4 separate regions of the Homo sapiens genome follow, and regions 2, 3 and 4 are each linked to region 1. Evidence: promoter capture Hi-C in 16 types of primary human blood cells and fetal thymus (Javierre and others, 2016). All regions are on one chromosome and are shown on one strand. Each heading gives the region's core, a stretch centred on a gene start or on the middle of the fragment in contact. The rest is flanking DNA. Distances are from core to core; before and after follow the strand shown. Region 1 holds the start of C15orf40 (chromosome 15 open reading frame 40). Region 2 overlaps EFL1 (elongation factor like GTPase 1). Region 3 overlaps SAXO2 (stabilizer of axonemal microtubules 2). Region 4 overlaps SH3GL3 (SH3 domain containing GRB2 like 3, endophilin A3).

What was found. The method cuts DNA at HindIII sites, captures the fragments that hold promoters and counts their contacts. A CHiCAGO score of 5 or more calls a contact.
Region 2: a fragment that was not itself captured here is called in contact with the fragment with the promoter of C15orf40 in region 1 in 1 of 17 cell types (activated CD4 T cells); the score reaches 6.1 in activated CD4 T cells.
Region 3: a fragment that was not itself captured here is called in contact with the fragment with the promoter of C15orf40 in region 1 in 2 of 17 cell types (total CD8 T cells and naive CD4 T cells); the score reaches 7.2 in total CD8 T cells.
Region 4: a fragment that was not itself captured here is called in contact with the fragment with the promoter of C15orf40 in region 1 in 2 of 17 cell types (megakaryocytes and fetal thymus); the score reaches 6.8 in megakaryocytes.

What each region holds. Positions count from the first base shown.
Region 1 is chr15:83,010,177-83,013,132 of GRCh38, reverse strand. It overlaps C15orf40 (chromosome 15 open reading frame 40), which reads left to right and starts at 1,494. Exons shown (of 4, transcript NM_144597.3): 1 at 1,494-1,636; 2 at 2,770-2,896. The coding sequence starts at 1,526. It overlaps LOC124903542 (a long non-coding RNA gene), which reads right to left and starts at 1,392. Exons shown (of 2, transcript XR_007064742.1): 1 at 74-1,392. RefSeq lists an enhancer at 1,257-1,316. The HindIII fragment of the contact is 2,628 bases long and covers 2-2,629 here.
Region 2 is chr15:82,257,189-82,260,144 of GRCh38, reverse strand. EFL1 (elongation factor like GTPase 1) reads left to right here. Exons shown (of 20, transcript NM_024580.6): 3 at 990-1,057. Among named protein-coding and RNA genes, the nearest start is that of EFL1, 4.1 kb to the left of the region's middle. The HindIII fragment of the contact is 6,257 bases long and covers 1-2,956 here.
Region 3 is chr15:82,277,113-82,280,068 of GRCh38, reverse strand. The region is part of intron 3 of SAXO2 (stabilizer of axonemal microtubules 2); the gene reads right to left. Among named protein-coding and RNA genes, the nearest start is that of SAXO2, 16 kb to the right of the region's middle. The HindIII fragment of the contact is 236 bases long and covers 1,443-1,678 here.
Region 4 is chr15:83,575,254-83,578,209 of GRCh38, reverse strand. SH3GL3 (SH3 domain containing GRB2 like 3, endophilin A3) reads right to left here. Exons shown (of 9, transcript NM_003027.5): 6 at 1,469-1,627. Among named protein-coding and RNA genes, the nearest start is that of ADAMTSL3, 77 kb to the left of the region's middle. The HindIII fragment of the contact is 8,892 bases long and covers 1-2,956 here.

The sequences.
Region 1 (2,956 bases), core at 245-2,744:
TTTCCCTTAGGAAGGAAGGAGTGTCTAAGGCCTCCTGTAGAGAACTCAATCTCTACTTGAGCTCAGATCCTACCTCTTCAGGAACCGTCCTCTGCTGTAACCTCTCTTCTCCTGGCTCTTTCCTACCAATCTTCAAATATGATAAAAATAAGTCTCTGAATGTCATGTGCCCCTCCAGATACCAATTGCTCCTTCACAGTGAAGTCACTGGATTATTCTCTACAATTATCTCCATTTCCTTCTCTCCACTAAAACTGCTGTAGCCCGGGTCACCACCACCACCCTGATTTCTAAATCTTGTGGCCACTTCTCAGTCGTTACATGTGACATGTTCTCTCCAGAGTGTTCATCACTGTTGATGTTCCCTCTTGAAGCGCCCTTCTTTAGCTGCCGTTACACCGTACTCCTACCTGGTCAGTGTCCTTTGGTGACTTCTCTACCTGCCCTTGCTGTTCTAACCTGGGCCCTCGTGCTCTTTACACACTCTCTCATCCATTTCCATAGCTTCAATTGCCATCTGCTTTCAGAAGATTCCAGAATCTCTATCACCAGCCTTGATTTCGCAAACTCCAGTCACATATATTCAGTTACCCCTTTAACATTTGTATTTGGATGTCCTGTGGGCATCTCAAACTCATTATGTCCAAAGCTGAACTCCTCACCTCGGCCTCCCAAACCTGTTCCTTGGGCCCCAAACCTGGGCATTTCCTTGACTTTTCCCCCTTATTCGCACATGCAGTCATTCCCAAGTTCTGATCATTTCAGTTCCTGAAGATCCTTGAAATGATCAGCGCTCCACCCTCCCTGCGGTTACTCTAGTTCAGGCCACCCTCTCCCATTTAGGGGGCGGATCTCCCTGTCTCTGGCTTTTCCTCTGTCGGCCACAGTGCAGCCGGTGTCTTTCTAAAACCCAGCAAATTGGGCTGCTAATAATCCCTTGCTTGAAAGCCTTCAGTGACTCCATGATCTTGCCTCTGCTGATTTGTTTCATGTCTCTCCATATCACATGTCGCAGTGTATTTCCTCTTCTTTTACATTGTGGGATCCGCTGCGCCTGGCACAAGGTAGGTGCGCCATCGATACGTGGAAGATTCACAAGGGCCAAGCCGCCACGAGGCTCTATATCGACTTGATGGCCACAGGCAGCGCGTGGGACTCTGCATCTGCTGCTTGGCTGTGGGAGCGAGAAGACACCTGGCCCTGTGCACTCCTTGCCGCGCTCTCCAATTCTGAGAAGTGACAATACCTTTCTTTCCCCGATTAGGAAAGAGGTGACACACCTTCCTATCAGCTGAGCAGGGTGGGCCAAGACACGGTGAGGCCTCAGCTCCGCAGCTCCACTTCCTGGGGCTCGGCCCGTTCCAGAACAAAAGAGACTCGCGCATGTTCTGCGGCCACGAGACTCGCTCCCGCCGGCCTTAAGGTGTCGCCCTCTGGCCAGAGCGGATGCGCCGGGCGGTGGGGCCGCTCCTGCCGGCTACCTGCGCAAGCGCAGAGGGCTCTTCCGGCGCCTTCCCAGGCGGGGATGCTGCGGCTCCGCAGCGGGCTGAGGCACCTTCGGGCAACACCCAATACTCGGGGCTCCGCTCGGCTTCTTTGCGCCGAGATGCCTAAGAAGGCTGGTGCGACGACCAAGGCCAGTAGCAGGTCCCGTGGCGGCAGAGGGGTGGGCCTCAGGGGTACTTGTTGAAGAGCGCGGGAGAAGCGGGGCCCGGGAGTGAGTGGAGGCACTGCCAGCGGCTTGCCGTCTCTCAGTTCCGGGGCTCAGGACAGCCGCCGCCACCCCCAGAGCTGCGGCCTGCTGCCGTCGCCCCGCCTCAGTAGGCTGCGCTGCCGTCCACCTGGTGATTTCTGAGCGCTGGGCCCGGCGGCAGCCGAGCTCTCCTTGGGCTGCGTGTGCTGACCTTTGGCCTCCTACCCGCACTCCCAGTCCAGCAATTCATGTTCCCGCAGCGGCATGACCTGCGTTTCCCCAGGAGGCTGTATTCTGCTTTCTCCTCCCTTGCTTTGGCTGATCGCACCCCTTCTGTCAAGAATACAGCACTCCCATTTCCACCATCTTTGTTTGGCCAACCCCAGTCCGTTTCTCAGACTCAGCTCAAGCACTGCCTCCTGCTGGCAGCATTCTCCAGTGCCCCAATGCTGATTTGCCTGTGGGGTAATGTTCTGTGCCTATCTCATCGGTGCACTTAGCACAGTGTATTATAATTTTGTATGTTCTTTCTCCCTCGCAGCAGTCCGAGCTCCTTGAGAGCAAGGACCATGTACCTTTTCATCTTTACATATCCATTGCCTACATATTTGTTGAACGAAAGTTCCTAGCACAGCCCCTGTCCCATAACAGGCCTTTAAATATCAAGCACTATTTTTTTTTCCTCCCTTTCCCGCAACATGCAGACATACACACTTTCACCAACATTTATTAGCTCCGACTGCATGAGATACAATGATGAATAATAAATGATCCCTGCCCCCAAGGAATTGGAAATACAAAGCAGAGGGAGGAGCAAGCATTAAGGTTTAGAAGCCAGAGTTAGGTTTTCTTGCAAGGGGGGAAAAAACACTGTTGGGTTGATGGGAACCCTTCGTGGGAAAATTGAGTAGAGCCTTGAAGGTTGTGGGAAAAGCTTTCTAGGTGGCCAGAAGTCCCTGGACACCACTGATGAGCCTAGTTTGTCTGTTAAGGGTGAAAGGGGGTAGTGGAAGAATCAAATTAAATGTGTGGGAAAATATTTTGTAACCTGTAAAGTTGTGTGGTTGTCATTTTAGGGTAAAAGCCAGAGCAAGGAACCAGAGAGACCACTTCCTCCCTTAGGTCCTGTGGCAGTTGATCCTAAAGGATGCGTCACCATAGCCATCCATGCAAAACCTGGCTCCAAACAAAATGCTGTAACAGGTATACCTGGACACTGGGGTGGGATTCAAGTGTGAATCAGGTGTCTCCTACAGCCCTCCT
Region 2 (2,956 bases), core at 140-2,639, 750 kb after region 1:
AAAAACCTGGGATTCATCCATTCAACAAGTATTTTCTGAAGGTCTTCTATATGACAAGCGTTGTTCTGGTCCTAGGGATACTGCTGTGAATAAAGCAAAGTTCCTGCTTGCTTGATAATTATTTTCTAGGGAGGTATATACTTGGTGTACTTAGAATAAATTCAGCTTTACTGGGTAGCAGGAAAGTGATGCTCTAGGATTATATGCTAATACATATTTACATTGCAGACAGATAGCAGTGTTAAATATCTTCAGTTCTCCTACTCATTGGTCTCTGGTTTGAACAATACAGAGATTCCATAGCTTTGCTGAAGTTCCTAAAGTGCAATAAAGACTTGTCTTGAAGGAAAAAAACCCTCCTTTGCTTACTCCAACCCAGTTGTAGTAATTATGCATACCCCTGACATTCTTTACACAGAATCACCTGTTTATATCACATAAAATCTCATAGACTTTAGTTGTATGTAGTCTGCTTAATAAAAGTAACTATAAATATATTCGAAGATTCTTTTGCTTTAAAGTAGATTCCTAGGTTTAGATTTGGATACTAGGTTTCATTGGTTGTTACAGTATGTTTATGCCCTCCACATGCTATATTACAAACAGTAAGAGATATGGATAATGTTCCTGAATTTCTTTGATAAGTAAGTATTTTCTTAAGACAGTTTAGCAAATTCCAGCTGAGGCCATGCATGGGGAAATATGGCAAAAGAGTATGTTCTCTAAAGTTACTTGACAACTTTTCAGATGAGGTTGAGTAGATCCACAGGGTTGGAGATAAGATTACAGCATTATAGAGTGCTAGCCTCTGTGTCCTTCCAGATGATATTCTGTTCAAAAGTCTAATAAATCTCTTTTGTCACCTAGCATAGGTAAATAGAAAATCTTTACTAAACCAATTCTTATGACCAGATTTTAAATCTATAGGTATGATCCATGACCCCTTTTAAAAAAGATATAGATTTGAATTGATGTTGCTATTTTAACAGGAAAAACTACTCTGGCTGACTGTCTTATATCTAGCAATGGAATCATCTCCAGCCGCCTAGCAGGCAAGGTATGTTATTATTTTATAAATACTTGTTGCATTTCAGTATTAGCTATCAACAATGTGATGAACCATTTTCTGTGTTCTTCAGCCATCCAAAAGGGTATAAAACATAATTCTTGCGTCTAAAAGCTGCCAATCCATTTTGCAAGATAAAAATGCTGAGGAGAAAAATAGTTACTTCTGTATTGCTTTGTATTGCTTTATCCTAAGTGCAAAAGTGAGTTTTTGCAGCAAGCAAATGATACACCATTGTGGAAGATTTCACAGCGCAAGAGATTCTTTGTAGGTGAATGAGTTGAGTGGTTTGAGGAGAAGACAGAAAAGCTACCAGGTAGTGGGAAATAAGACGGATAAAGGCTAATTTGTGTGTTGTGCTCTATTTGAGTGGAGTGTTTGCCTAGAGACTAGTGACAGAGAAAACATACTGGCAGGGAGAATAAGATTATAGAAGACCTTAAAAGTTAACCTAAGTATCAAAGGAAAGCTGCTTGTGCCTGAGGATTGTGATGAAAATAGTGGGTTTTTTGGTTTTTGTTTTTGAGACAGGATCTCACTCTGTTGCCCAGGCTAGAGTGCAGTGGTGTGATCATGCACGGCTCACTGCAACCTCGCCCTGTTGGGCTCAGGTGATCCTCCCACCTCAGCCTCTTGGGTACCTGGGACTACAGGTGCACACCACCACACCTGGCTAATTTTTTGTAGAGACAGGGTTTTGCCATGTTCCCTAGGCTGATCTTGAACTCCTGGGCTCAAGCAATCCTCCTGCCTTGACTTCCCAAAGTGCTGGAATTACAGGTGTGAGTCACCACACCTAGCCTGAAAATAGCGTTTGAGGAAATAAAATTAAAGAGATCTTTATTTGTAGCTATGAGTTGAAAGGGCTTGGAATAATTTACTTGGCAGTAGAAAAATAAAGATATATTCGTTTCCATAATGAATTTAGGATATGATCAATAGGGTTTATCAGGTGACAGAGAATAGAGAGAAGAGGAGACGGAGAAGCAAAATTGAATCCACAGGGTAGACCCAATAGACTTGAAGATCGATTTGGGAATTGATGTGTGGGTTGGGAGGGAAGCTGGCCCAAGATACTATCTAGAGGAGGCTGAAGAAAACTAGGTTGAGTGAAATAATGAAATGCTTATATTTTCCCCACTTGAGAATTTAGAGAAAGTACAAAACTGAAGTAAGTAGATGAAAGGAAATAGTAAAGCATAAATTAATGAAATAGTAAACAGACATTTTATAGAAAGGATCAGTGAAGCCAGAAGTTTGTTTTTGGAAAAGATTAACCCAGCTAACAAATACAAAGAGTGAACCCTAATGTAAACTATGGACTTTAATTAATCATAATGCATCAATATTGGTTCATCAGTTGTAACAAAGGTATCACACCATATGCTAATACAAGATAGATATAATAGGGGAAACTGTGTGGGTGGGAGGAGAGAGTATGTGGGAACCTTCAGTCAATTTTTCTGTAAACTTAAAGGTGCTCTAAAAATATAAAGTTATTAATTTAAACAATTACTAGCAATATAGACAATTTTTGATTCTCTTGACTAGGAAACTTTTTTGTTTTGTTTTTCATTGACATTGTTGAGGAACATTTGACACTTTTGACCTGGTAATGTTCCTAATGTGGCTCACTGTACTTTGGACATATAGAAAGCATAGTATATATAAATAAATATTTTTGAATGAATGACTTTAAAGAAGAGTAACACAACTGACAAAACACCAGCAAGATGATCAAGAAGAAAAGAGAGGAGGCAGAAATATGTGATACCCAGAAAGAAAAATGCTGCAGAAGTTAATAAGGTAATAATAGGATATAATGAACAACTCTGTGCCAGTAAACTTAAAAGTGCTAAAATGGAAAAATGTCTGGAAAACATAACTTGC
Region 3 (2,956 bases), core at 311-2,810, 730 kb after region 1:
GTTTTTAGTGTTTTATGATACTTATGGAAAAACAAGAAAACAATGCTGTCCATGTCTAACAATACAGTTTGGTTATGTGGCAGCTCCACTATCGCCCTTGTTAGATGTTTCCTCAGCTCACTTTTTATGTCTAGCCACTAAAATCTGGTTAGAAAGTTTATTCTCTTCTGAACAGGTTTAAGTCCAAGAAGTGCCTGCATGCACTTGCCCACTATTTGTATACACAGCTCCAACCCCATTTTAATATAGTGAGCTGTTCTAGGTTCTTCTTTGAGGACAAAAGTCTTGAGTTGCTTATGCTAGTTCTTTTTCCTGGTACTTGGGACTGCTCCCTGTGGTGTCTTGTGGTACCGAGGAATTGGAAACTACTTTTAGAAAGTAAGGGGACATCATCCTCGGCCTCAGCTTTTTCAATCTACATATCACCAATCTACTCCCATGGTTTTAATACTACCTGTAAGGTGGTGACTCCCAAACTTGAATCCCTACTTCAGACCTCCCTTCAAACACCAACCCACATATTTATCCACCTACTAGACATCTTTATTTGGATGTCCCTCAGATAAATGAAAACTTAGCATGCCCCAATTAATTATCTCACTCAGACTCACATTCCCCAGAAAATAACACATCAACAAAGTTTCTATTATGAATTTGGCATCTCAGGCTAAGGTTCTGTTTAATTGACTTTCTCTCCCTCATTTCCTTCTCTCCTTTTCAAGTGGTTTTCAAATACTGTTGATATTACCTTCTAAATATTAATGTCTTCCTTCTTGAAGCAAATATGGAATGAATGGCAACCTGATAAAATTGTCAAAAATAAGAAAAAGAAAAAAGAAGAGGCCACAATGTAAAATAAACGTCTATAAGGTCTATTCTCTTTCATTCTTGATATTTGTAATTGGTGTCTTCTCTCTTTTCATTTATTAACTTCATTATCTTTTAATAGAACCAATTTTTGGTTTCATTGTTTTTCTCTATTATTTTTCTGTTTTCAAATTTATTGATTGCTGCTGTTATCCTCATTTATTTCCTTCTGCTTTGCTTTGGATTTAATTTGCTCTTATTTTTCTAGTTTCATGCAATGAAGGTTTAGACTATTGATTTAAGACTTTCTTTTCTAATATGAACCTTAAATGCTATAAATTTTCTGAAAAGCATTGCTTTAGATGCATCTCTCAGATTTTGATGTACTATATTTTCATTTTCATTAAATTCAAAATATTTTCTAATTTCTTTTGTTACTTTTGCTTAAAGCCATTAGTTATTTAGGATTTTGCTGTTTAATTTCCAAATATTTGGAGATTTTCCACATTTTTTTCTATTATTGATGTCTAATTTAATTCTGTTATGATCAAAAACACACATTGCACGACTGCAAGTCTTTTATATTTGTTAAGGTTTTTTTTATGACTCTGAATATAGTTTATCTGGATGAAGCTTTCAAGTGCACTTGAAAAGAATGTATATTCTGTTATTGTTGACAGAAGTGCTTTACAAATGTCAATTTGGACAACATTGTTGATAGTGTCGTTCAGGTCTTTATATCCATATTCATTTCCTGTCTACGTTCTATAGATTACTTAGAGACAGTGTTGAAGTCTCCAACTACAAATGCATATTTTCACATTTCTTATGTTAGTACTATAAATTCTTGCTGCTTTGTATATTTGAAGCTTAGGATCTTGTGTTTGAGAAATGGAAAGCGGGTGTGTGGTGGTTTCTCTGTTGTCCCAGTCCAGCTTCAATCTTAGGCAGGCCCTGTGCCCCTGGGTCTCAGAAGCAGGGCTCTCTCAGAGCACCTGCCCTTTCACTTGATGTAGTAGGTCTCTAATTGTTGGTCCCAAGACAGTTTCCTGTTCTTTCTTCATGTTCAAGGTTTGGTTTTATTTTGCTTCTTCTTCTTGTTTTTCCTTTGTCTTTCATCAAGTTGCAATACATCTTCACCTATTCCTTGGGGTTGTCAGAGTGGTGCCTTTCCTGCAGTGGATTAATGCTTTTGCTCTGTAGGTTAGAGGCATTCAAATGGAGCTTCCTGCTTTTTTTTTTCTTTTGCAAAAACAACCATTTTTCTCTCCATGCCCGCACTATGAAGGAAACTTTCTGTGGTCTCCAGCCTTTCTCCCAATCTTTCTCATGATCACACAGTGAACATCCATAGGGAAGAGTCTATGAGTGGTTTTGAACTCTCCCTTTAGTGTCTGAAGTTCTCAGAGCTTCTATACTCTCGCAGTAGCTCATACTCAAGTCTTTAGCAATTAAAGATGTAATGAATTATTTTATTCACTTGTGTAACAGCTAGTCTTCATTCCATGCCCTGCTTTGGGTGAAACAGTGCTTGCCTCCTGTCTCAACTGGGTGGAAGTTGTTTCTCCTCAGATGTCAGGCTAATTGGTTAACCTGTGATCTCAGCTTTCTAAAGGATTCATAAACATTTATGATTTTGTAGATTATCTGGCTTTTTCTTATTGTTATGTTGGCAACATAATCTTTCTAGCCTTCTGCATCCTACACAGAATCTGAATATTCTGGATTTCTTTATGGTGAGGTTTAAAATTACACCTTCAATTCTACAAATTCAATTTCCTTTATAGATATAGGGCTATTTTGACTTTTTATTTCTTCTTGGGTTACTTTTGGTAAATTGTATTTTTCAAAAAATTTATCCATTTTATGTAAGTTGTAAATTATTGGCATATTTTTTAAAATAATATCTTTTTAATGTGTGAAAAATCAATCTTTGAATTTTAATCACAATATTTTGTTCATTTACACTTAATGCAATGATCTAGCTGGGCTTAAGTTGATTGTATTGCTATTTGCTTTTGACTTTTCCCTTCTTTGTTCCCATACCCCTTATTTCTTGCCTTCTTTTGTATTAATAAATGGCATTTGTATTATTCCACTTTACTATTTTAACTTTCTATATTTTAAAAATAAAAATGAATTTTTGACT
Region 4 (2,956 bases), core at 286-2,785, 570 kb before region 1:
GCAGGGAGGCCACCCCCAGCTGCGTGTTGCCTGGTCAGGAGTCACCGTCCTCCTTAATTCCATTTCATTTGACTTTACTTGGACAAATCAAATCAAAGCAAATGGCAGGAACCACAGTACAATAGAAGATTGGCACTTCTGAGGGATAAGATCCGAGACCTTCACAATTCCCGAGCCCACAAGCACCACTATGGAACAGCTGAAAAATTTGGGTCATGCTTTTGTGTCCTCAATGTGGGCTATGACAGGTAAAGGCACCAGAGAGCTGGGGGATGACAGCGGCTGTCCGCCCCCCAGATAAGAGAGCTGTTCTCCCTTAACCATCTGCCTTGCCAAGTACTTTTCAGTCTCAGCAAAATGGCAAATTACTACATGACCTCGACTTTTCATTCTCCTGTGAAACCATAAATCCTATGGCCTCACATACAAAAGCCAGTCTACTTAGCAATCTTCAGAGACAACCTCTGAAGCAATCCTGGGATAAACAGGACTCCTCAAGATTTAAGATATTGAGTCAGGGGCTGGCGTGGTGGCTCACACCTGTAATCCCAGCACTTTGGGAGGCTGAGTCGGGTAGGTGGCTTGAGCCCAAGGGTTCATGATCAGCCTGGGCAACATGGCGAAACTCCCATCTTGACAAAAAATTATCAGGGTTTGGTGGCATGCCTGTGATCCCAGCTATCCAGGAGGCTGAGGTGGGAAGATCGCTTGAGCCTGGGAGGTCGAGGCTGCAGTGAGTCACAATCGTGCCACTGCACTCCAGCCTGGGCAACAGAGTGAGACCCTGTCTCCAAAAAAAGATGTGAGTCAGGGCTTGCTGGATGTCTGAAGCAATCAATCTCTCAGGCAGGAGATAGGAGAAAATTCTAGAAACTTGCATAACAACTAAGGCTTTAGAGCAAGTTTGTCCAACCTGTGGCCCACAAGCCACATGTGGCCCAGGATGGCTCTGAATGTGGCCCAACACAAACTCATAAACTTTCTTAAAACATTATGAGATTGGACGGGGGTGGTGGCTCACACCTTTAATCCCAGCACTTTGAGAGGCCCAGGCAGGCAGATCATGAGATCAGGAGATCGAGACCCTCCTGGCCAACATGGTGAAACCCTATCTCTACTAAAAATACAAAAATTAGCCGAGTGTGGTGGTGCGTGGCTGTAATCCTAGCTACTCAGAAGGCTGAGGCATGAGAATCACTTGAACCAAGGAGACGGAGGTTGTAGTGAGCCGAGACACTGCACTCCAGCCTGGTGACAGAGCGAGACAGCGTCTCAAAAAAAAAAAAAATTATGATTTTTTTTTTAAGCTCATCAGCTATTATTAGTATTAGTGTATTTTATGTGTGGCCCAGGGAAGCCAAAAGATTGGACACTCCTGCTTTAGAGTTTTTCAACATGCCGATCATAGTCATATATTCAATGTTTCATTCATTTACATTAAAATCTCCTATTTGGTTTAAATACTTACATCATTTTCTAAAAAGTTAAACATGCTTCTTTCAGCCAACTCCTTTGACTCTTCAAATTTTTCTACCGCTTGTCTGACTTCTTCGTCTGGTATCTTACCTACTCGTTTCTTTTTATAATCGTAATCCAGGCGGCGGCCTTCCAGCTTTTTCAGGTGATGCTAAAAAAAGAGAATGGAGTCCCTCAGAGAGGTGCTACATTCAAAACCTGGCACAAAAAATTATTTCTATTAAAATGGTCATTGCTTTTTCTCGGCCTAGATTCCAGAGGGCAGGAACCCACCTTACACTGCTGTTGGGAGCACCTCAGCACCTGATGGAGGCTCCCCTCACTTCAGGTGCTCCAGGAATATTTGTGGAATGAATGAATGAATGGACAGATCGGTGATAGAATGAATGAGTGTCTTTATGGAATGTAATGATGCAGTAGCCATGCTCAGATATTATTTTCCAACGTTCTTTATACGATCCCTCACTTCAGCCTTCTTAATGTCCAGATAATTTCTAACCAGGTTAACCAAACAAAACACAGTAGGAACATTTCTTTTGGTACTATTGTCAACTCCTGACTAAGTAGTAGACTATAAAATCACAAACTTCTACAATCCCTTAGAATATTAACGGATCTCCGTAAAGTTCCCAAACAATCAAGAAATAAGTTGCGTAAAACGCTGTTAATGAATGCAAAGGAGAGAGATTCACAGACAACCTCTGAAACAGTAAAATTTCTAAACAATATTATAACCGCTTTAACAAAATATAACAGTTAGAACTGTCCACTCATGGAACAGGCTGCCTTGCGTAGCAGTAGGTTTCCCATCACAGTTTGTGTCCAAGCAGAGAGACCCCGTGTCAGAAACAGTGCTGAGTGGGATAGCTATACAGGACAAGGGAGGGGTCCCTGGAGAGTTTATGGCTATAATCCTCGGAAATCAGATACCAGGCATCGAAAGTGTATGTAGAAACTGATCATCCCACTGAAGCATGGGGATAGCTCGCACTATTCATTTTAGCAGGAAGCACTGCTTCTAACTTCCATGACTCAGTGAAAAGAGCACACAAGACCCAGAGAGTCAGAAACATCTCTCTCTTTGCTCTGTGACTTTGGGCTGGTCCCTAATCCCTCTGTACCTCTACATGAACACCTGAAAGTCAGCCGTATGTCAAATGAACAGGCCCCTGACCCCTGATTTCTGAGCGACACAGAGCATAGCTGAGACTATGAAAGGCTTCCTAAACCTTGGACTCTTAACTTTCCATCATCCACATAATTTAAGTTTAGATTTACAGTTCTGTATCAAACAGCAGCTGAGTAACAAGATGGCATTTAGAAAACTATTTTGTTGCATAGAGAACTGCAACATTTCAGAATAAGTGTGTTTTACACATTTCACCCACTTACTACTCAGGACCACATATGTGTCTGTGGTTGGCCAGGTGGAGGAGCAATGCTGACTTTTCATATGACCTTCCTCCATGATGACAGCACA